Regions from separate parts of the Homo sapiens genome. Here regions 1, 3 and 4 are each linked to region 2. Evidence: promoter capture Hi-C in 16 types of primary human blood cells and fetal thymus (Javierre and others, 2016). All regions are on one chromosome and are shown on one strand. The core of a region is centred on a gene start or on the middle of the fragment in contact, and the rest is flanking DNA. Distances in the headings are between cores, read along the strand shown. Region 1 holds the start of KRT39 (keratin 39). Region 2 holds the start of KRT35 (keratin 35). Region 3 overlaps LOC105371776 (a long non-coding RNA gene). Region 4 overlaps LOC107985072 (a long non-coding RNA gene).

What was found. Contacts are between HindIII fragments. The CHiCAGO score rates a contact against its expected background, and 5 or more counts as called.
Region 1: a contact is called between the fragment with the promoter of KRT39 here and the fragment with the promoter of KRT35 in region 2, in 2 of 17 cell types (naive CD8 T cells and non-activated CD4 T cells). The highest score is 9.0, in naive CD8 T cells.
Region 3: a fragment that was not itself captured here is called in contact with the fragment with the promoter of KRT35 in region 2 in 1 of 17 cell types (M2 macrophages); the score reaches 5.5 in M2 macrophages.
Region 4: a fragment that was not itself captured here is called in contact with the fragment with the promoter of KRT35 in region 2 in 5 of 17 cell types (M1 macrophages, total CD8 T cells, non-activated CD4 T cells and 2 more); the score reaches 9.1 in M1 macrophages.

Annotation. Positions count from the first base shown.
Region 1 is chr17:40,965,404-40,968,375 of GRCh38, reverse strand. It overlaps KRT39 (keratin 39), which reads left to right and starts at 1,428. Exons shown (of 7, transcript NM_213656.4): 1 at 1,428-1,987. The coding sequence starts at 1,520. The region is part of intron 1 of LOC107985072 (a long non-coding RNA gene); the gene reads right to left. The HindIII fragment of the contact is 5,044 bases long and covers 1-2,972 here.
Region 2 is chr17:41,479,726-41,482,551 of GRCh38, reverse strand. KRT35 (keratin 35) reads left to right here and starts at 1,401. Exons shown (of 7, transcript NM_002280.6): 1 at 1,401-1,925; 2 at 2,771-2,826. The coding sequence starts at 1,455. The HindIII fragment of the contact is 10,492 bases long and covers 1-1,570 here.
Region 3 is chr17:40,813,854-40,816,833 of GRCh38, reverse strand. LOC105371776 (a long non-coding RNA gene) reads right to left here. Exons shown (of 4, transcript XR_934753.2): 4 at 2,706-2,886. Among named protein-coding and RNA genes, the nearest start is that of KRT10-AS1, 3.8 kb to the left of the region's middle. The HindIII fragment of the contact is 213 bases long and covers 1,144-1,356 here.
Region 4 is chr17:40,949,271-40,951,970 of GRCh38, reverse strand. The region is part of intron 1 of LOC107985072 (a long non-coding RNA gene); the gene reads right to left. Among named protein-coding and RNA genes, the nearest start is that of KRT23, 13 kb to the right of the region's middle. The HindIII fragment of the contact is 4,385 bases long and covers 1-2,700 here.

The sequences.
Region 1 (2,972 bases), core at 179-2,678, 510 kb after region 2:
AGCACTATTCACAATAGCAAAGACATGGAACCAACCCAAATGCCCATCAATGATGGACTGGATAAAGAAAATGTGGCACATATACACCATGGAATACTATACAGCCATAATAAAGGATTAGTTCATGTCCTTTGCAGGGACATGAATAAAGCTGGAAACCATCATTCTCAGCAAACTCACACAGGAACAGAAAACCAAACACTGCATGTTCTCACTCATAAGTGGGAGTTGAACAATGAGCACACATGGACACAGGGAGGGGAACATCACACCGGGGACTGTGAGGGGGTGAGGGGCTAGGGGTGGGATAGCATTAGGAGAAATACCTAATGTAGATGACAGGTTGATGGGTACAGCAAACCACCATGGCACTTGTATACCTATGTAGCAAACCTGCACGTTCTGCACATGTATCCCAGAACTCAAAGTACAAAAAATCTCATAATTCAAGAAAAAAAAAAAAGGATGAAAAGGGGCCACTAGCTGAGGATGTGGACAGCCTGTAGAAGCTGGAAAAGGCAAGAAAATGATGTTCCCCTAGAGCCTCCATAAAGGATTAGCAGCAAGTAACTTTCTGAAGAAAATGCTGAGTAAGTATTCCTCAGAAAGAAAACACACCCCTTTCAATGAATCCTATTTAAACATCCAGTATAAACCAACACTGTGATACATTTTTATCTAATGTAATACCACAAGCAAACACCAAGCACTAAAAATGTTATAAAATGTGGACTTTGGAAAACCAAAAGAGAGCTAGTCTCTTTTCCAAGAAATTTCTTATTAGCAATCAAACCCTACCTTTTCCCCATGGCTTTTATTTTATTTCATATTTTATTTATATTTTATTTTATGTTATTACATTTTATGGAAAGCTAAAACATAAATCTAGCAATTATCTTTAAAACAAGACTTTTAAAAGACTAACATTTTAATTCATACTCACATTGTCCTGACACTGAAAATGGGGAAACCATTTGGGCAGAACAAACTAAAATATTGACTTCTGATTTCTAAGTTTACCAATAATTATTAAACATTAATAGTTTCCCTTTTCTAGAGAAGAAAGGAAAAGAAGGATGAACTCATTCCTGGTTAAGCTCAGTGCCAAGTGGAGAGGTCAACAAGAATGTAATGAACTTAGTATACTCACACCTGCTTAATAATGGATGCTGTTAGGACAGTTCCTTTTGAAGACATAATTTGAAGCTCTGGGTCCAATAGACAAGTAGTAGTTATGATGGGTAATAACTTACTAACAGCCTAAATGCACATGTTTATGAGACAAATAACTCTTCTTAAGCAAGTAAAAAGCAGACTAATAAGATGTTCCTACAGGATTTGATATAAACCTGAGAAAGGAAAACATCCCACCTGTGTGACACCACGTAGAAGAGAGGCTATATAAGCACTTCAAAGAGGAAAACACCAAGAGCCTTGGAATTCAGACTCTGTGGAGGTGGCTTGAGCTTTTCATCCTGGTGACCACAGACCTGGAACAAACTAAAGCCAGACACATACTATGGACACCAAGGGCTGTACAACAACCAATTCTCCTTCAACCCCATGTCAAAACTGCTCTAGGATTACAAATGTTAGTACCATCTCTTCTAACAACGGCTGCCATCCTGGTGGCCTTACAGTCAACAACTGTCAACCAGCTGGCCACGTTCTCAGAATTCCCTGGGACCAGGGCTGCCAACCCACTCCTCGCTTTTGTCGCAAGCCCATCTACCTAATGAACAACTTCAATGCCCGTTTTTCTCTGGATGACTGCAGCTGGTATGGTGAAGGCATCAACAGTAATGAGAAGGAGACCATGCAAATCTTGAACGAGCGCCTTGCTAACTACCTGCAAAAGGTGCGAATGCTAGAACGAGAGAATGCTGAACTGGAATCTAAAATCCAGGAAGAAAGTAACAAAGAGCTCCCTGTTCTATGTCCTGATTACCTGTCTTACTACACTACCATTGAGGAGCTCCAGCAGAAGGTAAGATTCCTAAGAACCTGTTTAATCGTGTTGTGAATTAATGGTTTCCAAGCAACAGTTATTTGCTAAACTTTAATATTTTTTGTTCAGTTGATGCTGAAAATTTTTTTGAAGAATAGAAAAATTTCTTGAGTGAAATTGTCATCTTGAGGCAGCATTCAGAGTCTGATAGTATTTCTGGTCAGGCGCAGTGATGCACACCTGTAATCCTAACACTTTGGGAGGCTGAGGCAGACAGATCACTTGAGCCCAGGAGTTCTAGACCATCCTGGGCAACATGATGAAATTCCATCCTTACACACACACACACACACACACACATACACACACAAAAAAAAATTAGATGGGCGTGGTGGCACATGCCTGTGGTCCCAGCTACTTGGGAGGCTGAGGTGGGAGGATCACTTGAGCCCAAGAGGTTGAGGCTGCCATGAGCCAAGATCCTGCCACTGCACTCCAGCCCAGACAAAAGTGAGACTATGTCTTTAAAAATCAGAAACAAAAAGAAGAGTCTCATGGTGTTTCCTTTCTCCAGAAATACACTCTACCATTATAACTAGATGACTCAGGACCAAAAGATGTTAACAGCAAGTTGTTGCCATTTTTTAAATAAAAATAGGGAAACAGAGATCAGAGAAAATAAATTTTGCTTTAATGAGTTTCTAAGCAATTTAGTTTTTATCCATTTTTCAACCATCACCACCTTTTTCTCCTTTTATGCTTATGTTATCATCTCCACATTGCTTGGTTTGTTTCTACACCAAACCTAAGTTTGTTATGCACAGACGTATTCTGCTACTACATATCTGGATTTATTCAGTTTTATTCATTCAACAAATGTTTACTGAGCAGCAACAACATTGGGCCAAACATTGTTCTAGATTCTGGGAAAATATTGGTGACCTTTAAAAAGTCCCTGCCCTCATGGAGTTGACATTCTAGTGGATCATGGTATTTATATAAATTTAGGATGGATTTTATTTTA
Region 2 (2,826 bases), core at 152-2,651:
TGCCCCCATGCTTACAGTCTCCCTGGGAAAATAGGGCTGAAACACAAGACAATCAGAAGACGTCAGTTAATTGGAGGCCAAGAAATCTACCAATAGTCACTGCCTTGGGCATTCAGAGCTGGGAGGGCACAGCAGGGCTGGAGCAGGGGCCAGACTTCGGGGGAAGGCCTGGCCAGGACTGGGCCCTTAGAGGCAGTGGGGTGGGCCTGTGGTTTGGAGCTGCAAGGCCTGGGCTTTAGCCTCCCTGGGAAGCCTGTGTGGACCTTGGGTAAGCCATTTTCTACTCTGACCATTGTCTCCTTCTGTAGGAGTCAGCACCTTTCTATCCACGACTGTGTTGGAGGGTGTGTGTGAGGCCTTAAAGAAGATAGCATGCCTTGAACAGTTGTACAGATGCTTTTTCAGCTGTGATCTGGGACAGGCTCCTGAAACAGTCCAAGCCTCCTCTATTTAATGGGCTATTGGTGATGCCAATCTCATGAGTTTGTGTGAGGACTGAATAAGAGAATGCATAGAGACAGATCAGCGTGGGGGCTGGTGGGTACTAAATGCTCAGTGAATGATGGTTGCTACCATCAGCCGGGTTATTGATAGGGCTGTGTGAAAAGAGCTCCAATTCAGGCAGCCAGAAGGAAGGGCTTCTCCATTTCTCAACCAGGGCTGGGGAAGACATGCCCTCCTAGATGTCATCATGGGCAGGTGTCCAATTAACTGATCTCTAGGCATTGTGGCTAGAACTTAGGCTCTACAACCTGCACAGACTTCCTGGCAAGGGAAAGAGTAGGGAAGTGTCCATCAGGGCTCTGCAGTATCTAGGGTGATAAGCTGTCCCATTTTACCGAGGACTGAGGTTTCCCTGGCATATGGAACTTTCGGAACTAAAGCCAGAAAATTCCTGGGGAAACCAAGAAAATTGGTCACCTTAGCCATATTTTCTGGGCCAATTCAAGAGCCTTCTGTGTCTCCCTGGCTGCAAGACCCCTGCCTTCCTGCACCAACCAAGTTTACCCTTCCATCTTCTGGGAGCACCCCAGAGACCTCCTCTACTCCCTCAGGCCAATAAAAGAAGTCAAAGTTGGAGAAAGTCAAGACAGTGGCTGAACTCCCATGCTTGCTTAATGCGGAGGCTGAGGTCTGGGCTCAAATGACAGGTCCCTTTGAAGAACTGACAGGGACTTGGTCTTCCCAGTGATGTGGGGTGGTGGAGATGAGTCTTGACATAGTAATGGGGCTCCTATTTTATGAGACTGGTAAATTTTCACAGGAAACTAAATAACAGGTTAATGAGGGGTTTTAATAGAAAGTGGTGTTAACTTTAATGAGGAGAAAACACTTTGTAAAGGCCAACCAATGCCCACTGGGGCAGAGATATAAATCTGGGGTAAGGAGCTGCTTCTCTGCTTTGGGGTGTCTGGCCTCAGAGACCTATCAATTGCATCTGAGTTGCAGGGGCCATGGCTTCCAAATGCCTCAAGGCCGGCTTCTCTTCTGGGTCTCTCAAGAGCCCAGGAGGGGCCAGTGGGGGCTCCACTCGTGTGTCCGCAATGTACTCCAGCAGCTCTTGCAAGCTTCCAAGTCTCTCCCCTGTGGCCAGAAGTTTCTCTGCCTGCTCAGTGGGTCTGGGCAGAAGCAGCTACAGGGCCACCAGCTGCCTCCCTGCTCTCTGCCTCCCTGCTGGAGGCTTCGCTACCAGCTACAGTGGGGGTGGGGGCTGGTTTGGGGAGGGCATCCTCACTGGCAATGAGAAGGAGACCATGCAATCCCTGAACGACCGCCTGGCCGGCTACCTGGAGAAGGTGCGTCAGCTGGAGCAGGAGAACGCCAGCCTGGAGAGCCGCATCCGTGAGTGGTGTGAGCAGCAGGTCCCCTACATGTGCCCTGACTACCAGTCCTACTTCCGGACCATCGAGGAGCTCCAGAAGAAGGTAAGAGGTTCAGAGTGGCTTTGGATTCCCAGGAACTTTGTGTCACCAGCATTCATTGGTAGTTCTGTTCCCATAGGGCATGTTGGAAGTCACCAAGCATGTTCATCTCTGTGGCCTCATTTGCTCCTCCCAATAACCTTAAGAGGGAGGTATCATTAGCCCATTATACAGTTGAGAACACTGAGATTCAGGCTGGGTAAGCGACCCAGATGGCAGTTACTGGAGCCAGAGCTTGAACATCAGGTCTATGAATGAACTCTGTGACCTTTGGTGGTATTGCCCAATCCTCTGAGTCTTCTGAGTTTTCATTTCCTCTTTTATTTAAAGTCAGGGGATTGGGTTTGATGTATTTAGTGCAGTGCAGTTCAGGCTTCCCATAAGTAACTCAGGGAAGAAAATGCCTGTCAGAGAAGTTTCTTTCTTGCCAAGGGCCCATATCCACTTCTCGCCTGGCCCAAAGTTATAGCTGGCTCCTGTGAGGGACCATTTATGACCAGAGAATCCCGGGGTATGTTGTTGGCAATGAAATGCCCTGGGCCCCCAGTAGGCCTGGGAGACAGGGAGATTGGAAGAAGCCTCATTTCATCATGCCAGGCCTTTCCTGTTGCATTTTCATGCAGCTATCTAACCTGAGTAACAGGTCACAGATACACTGCACTGGAAGAAACCCTGGACTTTCCATAGTTGATCCCTAGAGCCTGCCCATAACACTCCAATGCACATGGAGTAGCAGAGGTCTAGGATGGGTGACTTCCTCCTTCCAGAGTCAGCCCTTGTCAGCTTTAGGGAGCTCCAACAAGTGGAATGTCCTTTCTTGCAATGAAATAACTTCTTCATATCTCCAGACTCTATGCAGCAAGGCTGAGAATGCCAGGCTGGTGGTGGAGATTGACAATGCCAA
Region 3 (2,980 bases), core at 1-2,500, 670 kb after region 2:
ATTCAATACCACTGATACGAGGCAAGTACACATATGTTACTATGAGATAGCAGTGCTTGCTGTTAAGTTTGTCTCTTCTACCCATTCTGCCCTCCTCCCCCAGGCCACAATCTTAGCAGTCAGAGTCCTCTATGTGGTTGGATGGTGACCCAAACTTTCATTCCTGAAAAGTCTGCATACATCGTGGTCCTGTCTTCTTACCATTTCAATCTTGCAATACCTCCTTAAACAATTATTTATATTCTCTCTGATAAAGTAAATACTTTATCTCAGATAAACAGCTGCTTTCTTGATTGGACTTGGATAACTATGGTTTGTTTTTGCTTTTTTTTTTTTTTTTTTAATGAGACAAAGTCTCACTGTGTTGCCCATGCTAGTCTTGAACTGGGCTCAAGCAATCCTCCCACCTCAGTCTCTGAGTAGCTGGGATTATAGGCACATGCCGCAGTGCCCAACACTATGGTTTAATAAAGATAATCTGTCTAAATAAGCCACTTGTCTTTAATAAGGACATTGGTATTTATAGTAAAAAAAATTACAGAATTATTTTTAAAAATTATTAAATAGCACAGGGCACTATTTTTACCAAATAAATTTGCATGTACCTATTAATCAAAAAATTCTGTATGCATTCTTACAGATTCTAAAGTCATTACAGAATCCTGCTATTTAAGCAGGGTAGTGCCTAATTAGATTGGCAGAGCCAATTCGGCACCCATGTCAAAAAATATTACACGATAAAATCCTGTTTCCCCAAAGATGTTCTCTTATGATGCTAAAGGCCTAAAAGCTTTGCACCCTAATCTTGGTGCCCATGATGGCTTGATATTTTGCTTGGGAGTGAAGAAATAGCTTTGTTAGGGTCATCTTTATCAGGGAAGTAACTCGATTAAGGTTAAATAGGATGCATCTAATATTTCTCATCTATATTGCATTTTGAGAATGGGAATTAGGGAAAGAGCTTATTCATGGTTTATGAGCATGCAACTGAAACACAGTGATCCCTGGACTTCCTATCCTGGCACTGGCATTTACAAATTATGTACCTTTGGACAAGTTACTTCAACCCTTCTGAGTCTGTTTACTTACCTATACAATAAGGGATAGCTACCTTATATGAGGTAGTTGTGGTTAAACTAAGCTTGACAATGAAAATAATGATAATAATAGCCTTTAAATCACACCGGGCATTGTTCTGAGTAAATGATGGATGGATAGATAGGTAGGTAGGTGGGTAAATGTGTGGATGGATAGATAGATAGATTAGATAGATAGATAGATAGATAGATAGATAGATAGATACAGATAGGTAGGTAGACTCAGTACATATAACATGTATATGAACTCATTTAAGCTTAGCTACTACCCTACAGTTTATTTTCAACACAGAACCATAGTTATCCTTTTAAAATGTAAGTCTAATATATTAGATCAAATTGTAAGTCTAATTATATTTGATCAAAATTCTTTGATGTCTCTCCATTTCTCTTTTGATGTTACCTTGGTTAATATTCTTTAACAAGATGGTCTTCCTTACCTCCTTCAAGCCTTTGCACAGTTGTCACTTTTTCTTTGAGACCCACTCTGATTTTCCGCTTAAAATTTTACCTGCCAATCTCCCAACTCCCCTATCTGCTCCACTTTTTTTATTATTATTATACTTTAAGTTCTAGGGTACATGTGCAGAATGTGCAGGTTTGTTACGTAGTTATACGTGTGCCATGTTGGTTGGCTGCGCCCATTAACTCGTCATTTACATTAGGTATTTCCCCTAATTCTATCCCTCCCCCAGCCCTCTACCCCACAACAGGTGTGTGATGTTCCCCACCCTGTGTCCATGTGTTCTCATTGTTCAACTCCCACCTATGAGTGAGAACATGTGGTATTTGGTTTTATGTCCTCGTGATAGTTTGCTCAGAATGATGGTTTCCAGCTTCATCCATATCCCTGAAAAGGACATGAACTCATCCTTTTTTATGGCTGCATAGTATTCCCTGGTGTATATGTGCCACAGTTTCTTAATCCAGTCTATCATTGCTGGACATTTAGGTTGGTTCCAAGACTTTGCTATTGTGAATAGTGCCACAATAAACATACGTGTGCATATGTCTTTATAGTAGCATCATTTATAATCCTTTGGATGTATACCCAGTAAAGGGATCGCTGGGTCAAATGGTATTTCTAGTTCTAGATCCTTGAGGAATTGCCACACTGTCTTCCACAATGGTTGAACTAATTTACACTCCCACCAACAGTGTAAAAGCGTTCCTATTTCTCCACATCCTCTCCAGCATTTGTTGTTTCCTGACTTTTTAATGACCGCCATTCTAACTGGTGTGAGATGGTATCTCATTGTGGTTTTGATTTGCATTTCTCTGATGACCAGTGATGTTGAGCATTTTTTCATATGTCTGTTGGCTGCATAAACGTCTTCTTTTGAGAAGTCTGTTCATTTCCTTTGTCCACTTTTTGATGGGGTTGTTTTTTTCTTGTAAATTTGTTTAAGTTCTTTGTAGATTCTGGATATTAGCCCTTTGTCAGATGGGTAGATTGCAAAAATTTTCTCCCTTTCTGTAGGTTGCCTGTTCACCATGATGATAGTTTCTTTTGCTGTGCAGAAGCTCTTTAGTTTAATTAGATCCCATTTGTCAATTTTGGCTTTTGTTGCCATTGCTTTTGGTTTTTCAGTCATGAAGTCTTTGCCCATGCCTGTGTCCTGAATGGTATTGCCTAGGTTTTCCACTTTTTCTTTTTTTCACAGCACTGTTTCCAACTTACTATACAATGTATTCATTATTAGTCATCCTTTTCCCCTGCTAGACGGTACACTCCAGAAAGACAACGCTTGATCTTCGTCTACTTTATCCATTCATGTATCCTGAGGCACTAGAACAGTGACTAACACAGGTTAGGTACCAAAAATATCGTTTTTGAAGGAATGAACTCTATGACATATATACTATTATTATCTCCATTTTAC
Region 4 (2,700 bases), core at 161-2,660, 530 kb after region 2:
ATCCTCTATTCCAAATGCCCAATCAATTAAATAATTACTCAAGTTTGAAAATGTCATACATGTAGCCTAATGAAAGCTATAAAGAATTAAAGAAATAATGCTTGTCTTGGAGGTCTAAAGAAGGTGAGCCATATCCCTGGTGGTTCAAGTGGTTAAGAAAATATTTTAAAAAGAGAAAGTGAGCCCTAAAAACACAACACAACAGTGTCCAGCCCAATCCAGGAAGGGGCAACACTGAACTCATGAACACCATCTAAGCACGTGTGGACTTGAGGCAGTTTTTCAACCTCATTCCTCAAGACCCCATATCCCTCTTCTAGTTCCATTTTTGACAAAAGCCTTCATATTACAATTTGGTTTCTCTAATTCTTAGGTACAACAAAGAAGGTGCATTGATTTGCAGTTGGGAACTCTGTGGTTGCAAAATGGATCATCTTTCAATGTTAAATTAATAAGTTTGCATTCTGTCTCTTTCATCTGGCACTTAAAAGTCAGGTTACTCTGAGTCAGCTCCTGAGAATCCCTTTGGTTCTGGTGCACTAATAACCCACCAGCCTAAGAACAGACATAGACCACTGTGACTTCACAAGAAAGTATCACCTTGTGAAGTTCTGCTTTGGAGACCAGATGACCTAACTCAACAGCATCTTCATCTCTTCTCATTCTAACCACAACAATTAGGCTGTTGGATTTGTGTGAAGTTTATTGCTAGAAGATTGGCACAGTATAGCCCTGCTCTACTAGATATAAAGCCAAGAGGTCTTGAATGGAGAAGCATTGGGAAAGTGTAGGTCTCATTTCTAACTAGTTCATATTCATGGCGAGCATAGGCTCAAAACAATGAATGCCGGATATTCATGTTTCCAACAATTTGTGGCTTCATCAGCAATTGTGGGCTGCCAAAGCTGCAGGGGACTTCCTGGTTTTGACCCATCCCAAGAGTAACAGGACACAAGGCTGATAGGATGAAATATCCAAAGTCCACCCCCAGGATTCCATTTTTTTTCTTTTTTTTTTTTTGAGACAGAGTTTTGCTCGTGTTGCCCAGGCTGGAGTGCAATGGCACGATCTCGGCTCACCGCAACCTCCACCTCCTGGGTTCAAGTGATTCTCCTGCCTTGGCCTCCCAAGTAGCTAGGATTACAGGCATGCGCCACCATGCCCAGACAATTGTGGTTTTTTTTTTTTTTTTTAGTAGAGACAGAGTTTCTCCACGTTGGTCAGGCTGGTCTCGAACTCCTGACCTCAGATGATCCACCTGCCTTGGCCTCCCAAAGTGCTGGGATTACAGGTGTGAGCAACCACACCCACTGCCCCCCCCCACCCCCACAGGGTCCCTTTTAAGAAAGGCTACAAATTATAATTAGAGGGATGGTAATCAGAAATGAAATCAAACGTGTTGGGTTCAGAAAAAAACAGAAGATGCTATATTAGTGTATTCAGGAGAGGCACTGGGAGAAATAGACAAAATAAGAAAGAGAAAGGAGCAAAATGGATATGTTTTTGTGGCTGCAGAGTAAGAAGAACCAAGAGGTCATTTGGAGCTCACTTACATGGAACAGAATGTACAGTGGGACTAAGATTGCAGGGACCGTGTCCAGCGTCCCAGTTACAGCACCGTCTCTTTGTAGTAATGACACAAAGACTATGTAGTAAATAATAATTAAGGATGAAAGACGAGCTGTGGACAAAGGGTGAGATCAGGAGGGAAATAGGCTTTGGTTGTAAATAAAAGACACATATTCACATTTGCCCTAATGATGGTTCCCACGTGCCGTGGATCTTCAGGAACAGCCTTCCTTTTATGTAATTTTATGCTTCTCCGTAAAAATTATTTGTAAAATGTTTAATTAAATGTGATTTAAATTCTATAATTTTCTGAGGTATATCATATATATTAATTTGAAAATTTAAAAATCCACCTATAATTTGCCTTTTTAGGGTTTATGAAATATAGTAACTATAACCATCTTTGCTGTTACGCTAATAATTAAAGATCTAGACTAAGTATGTGTATGGAAAATATGTTTTATAAATCACATGGAAAACACATTCTATTCACCTTGATTTAATCTTTGTAGGAGATTGGTCAGAGTGGTGGGAGAAACTATAGGGAAAGGATGCAAACCTTCTGAAAGTTCAGAAGGCTCTGCATAGCTTCAGGGGAGAATAAGCTGAAGGCAGCTGTTCTCTGATCCTGAGGCAGAGGGCAAGGAGTAGGTACAAGGAGGTGTAGGGGAATTTATCGTAAACAGGCTTGTTTACTTAGGTTGTCCAGAAACCGACCTTTGATAATCTGTGCACATGACTGCTCCCTGAAAAGGGGAACAATAATGTTAATTACCCGCAGATTGTGTTTGCTCCAGGCTTTCGGCATTATGTCTGTACTGAATAAAAGCAAGCAGCTTCAGCTGTTCGCAGCTGCTCTCTTCTTTGGCCCTAAGTGCCGGCAGACCCCTAGCTGCTCTTACACTGCACGCCTGTGTTGTCAGTACTCCCTTCATCCGACGCTCGGCCAGGGTCTGCAGGACAGACCTGGCAAATCTTCAGCAAAAATCCATCACCAGAGTTCCTACTGGATGTTTCCCCCACAAACACACAGACACTACGATGTTCTACTGCCACTGTAACAAAGTGACATGCATTTCATGGCTCAAAATAACACAAAACACGAATGTACTATCTTACTGTTCTCTATTT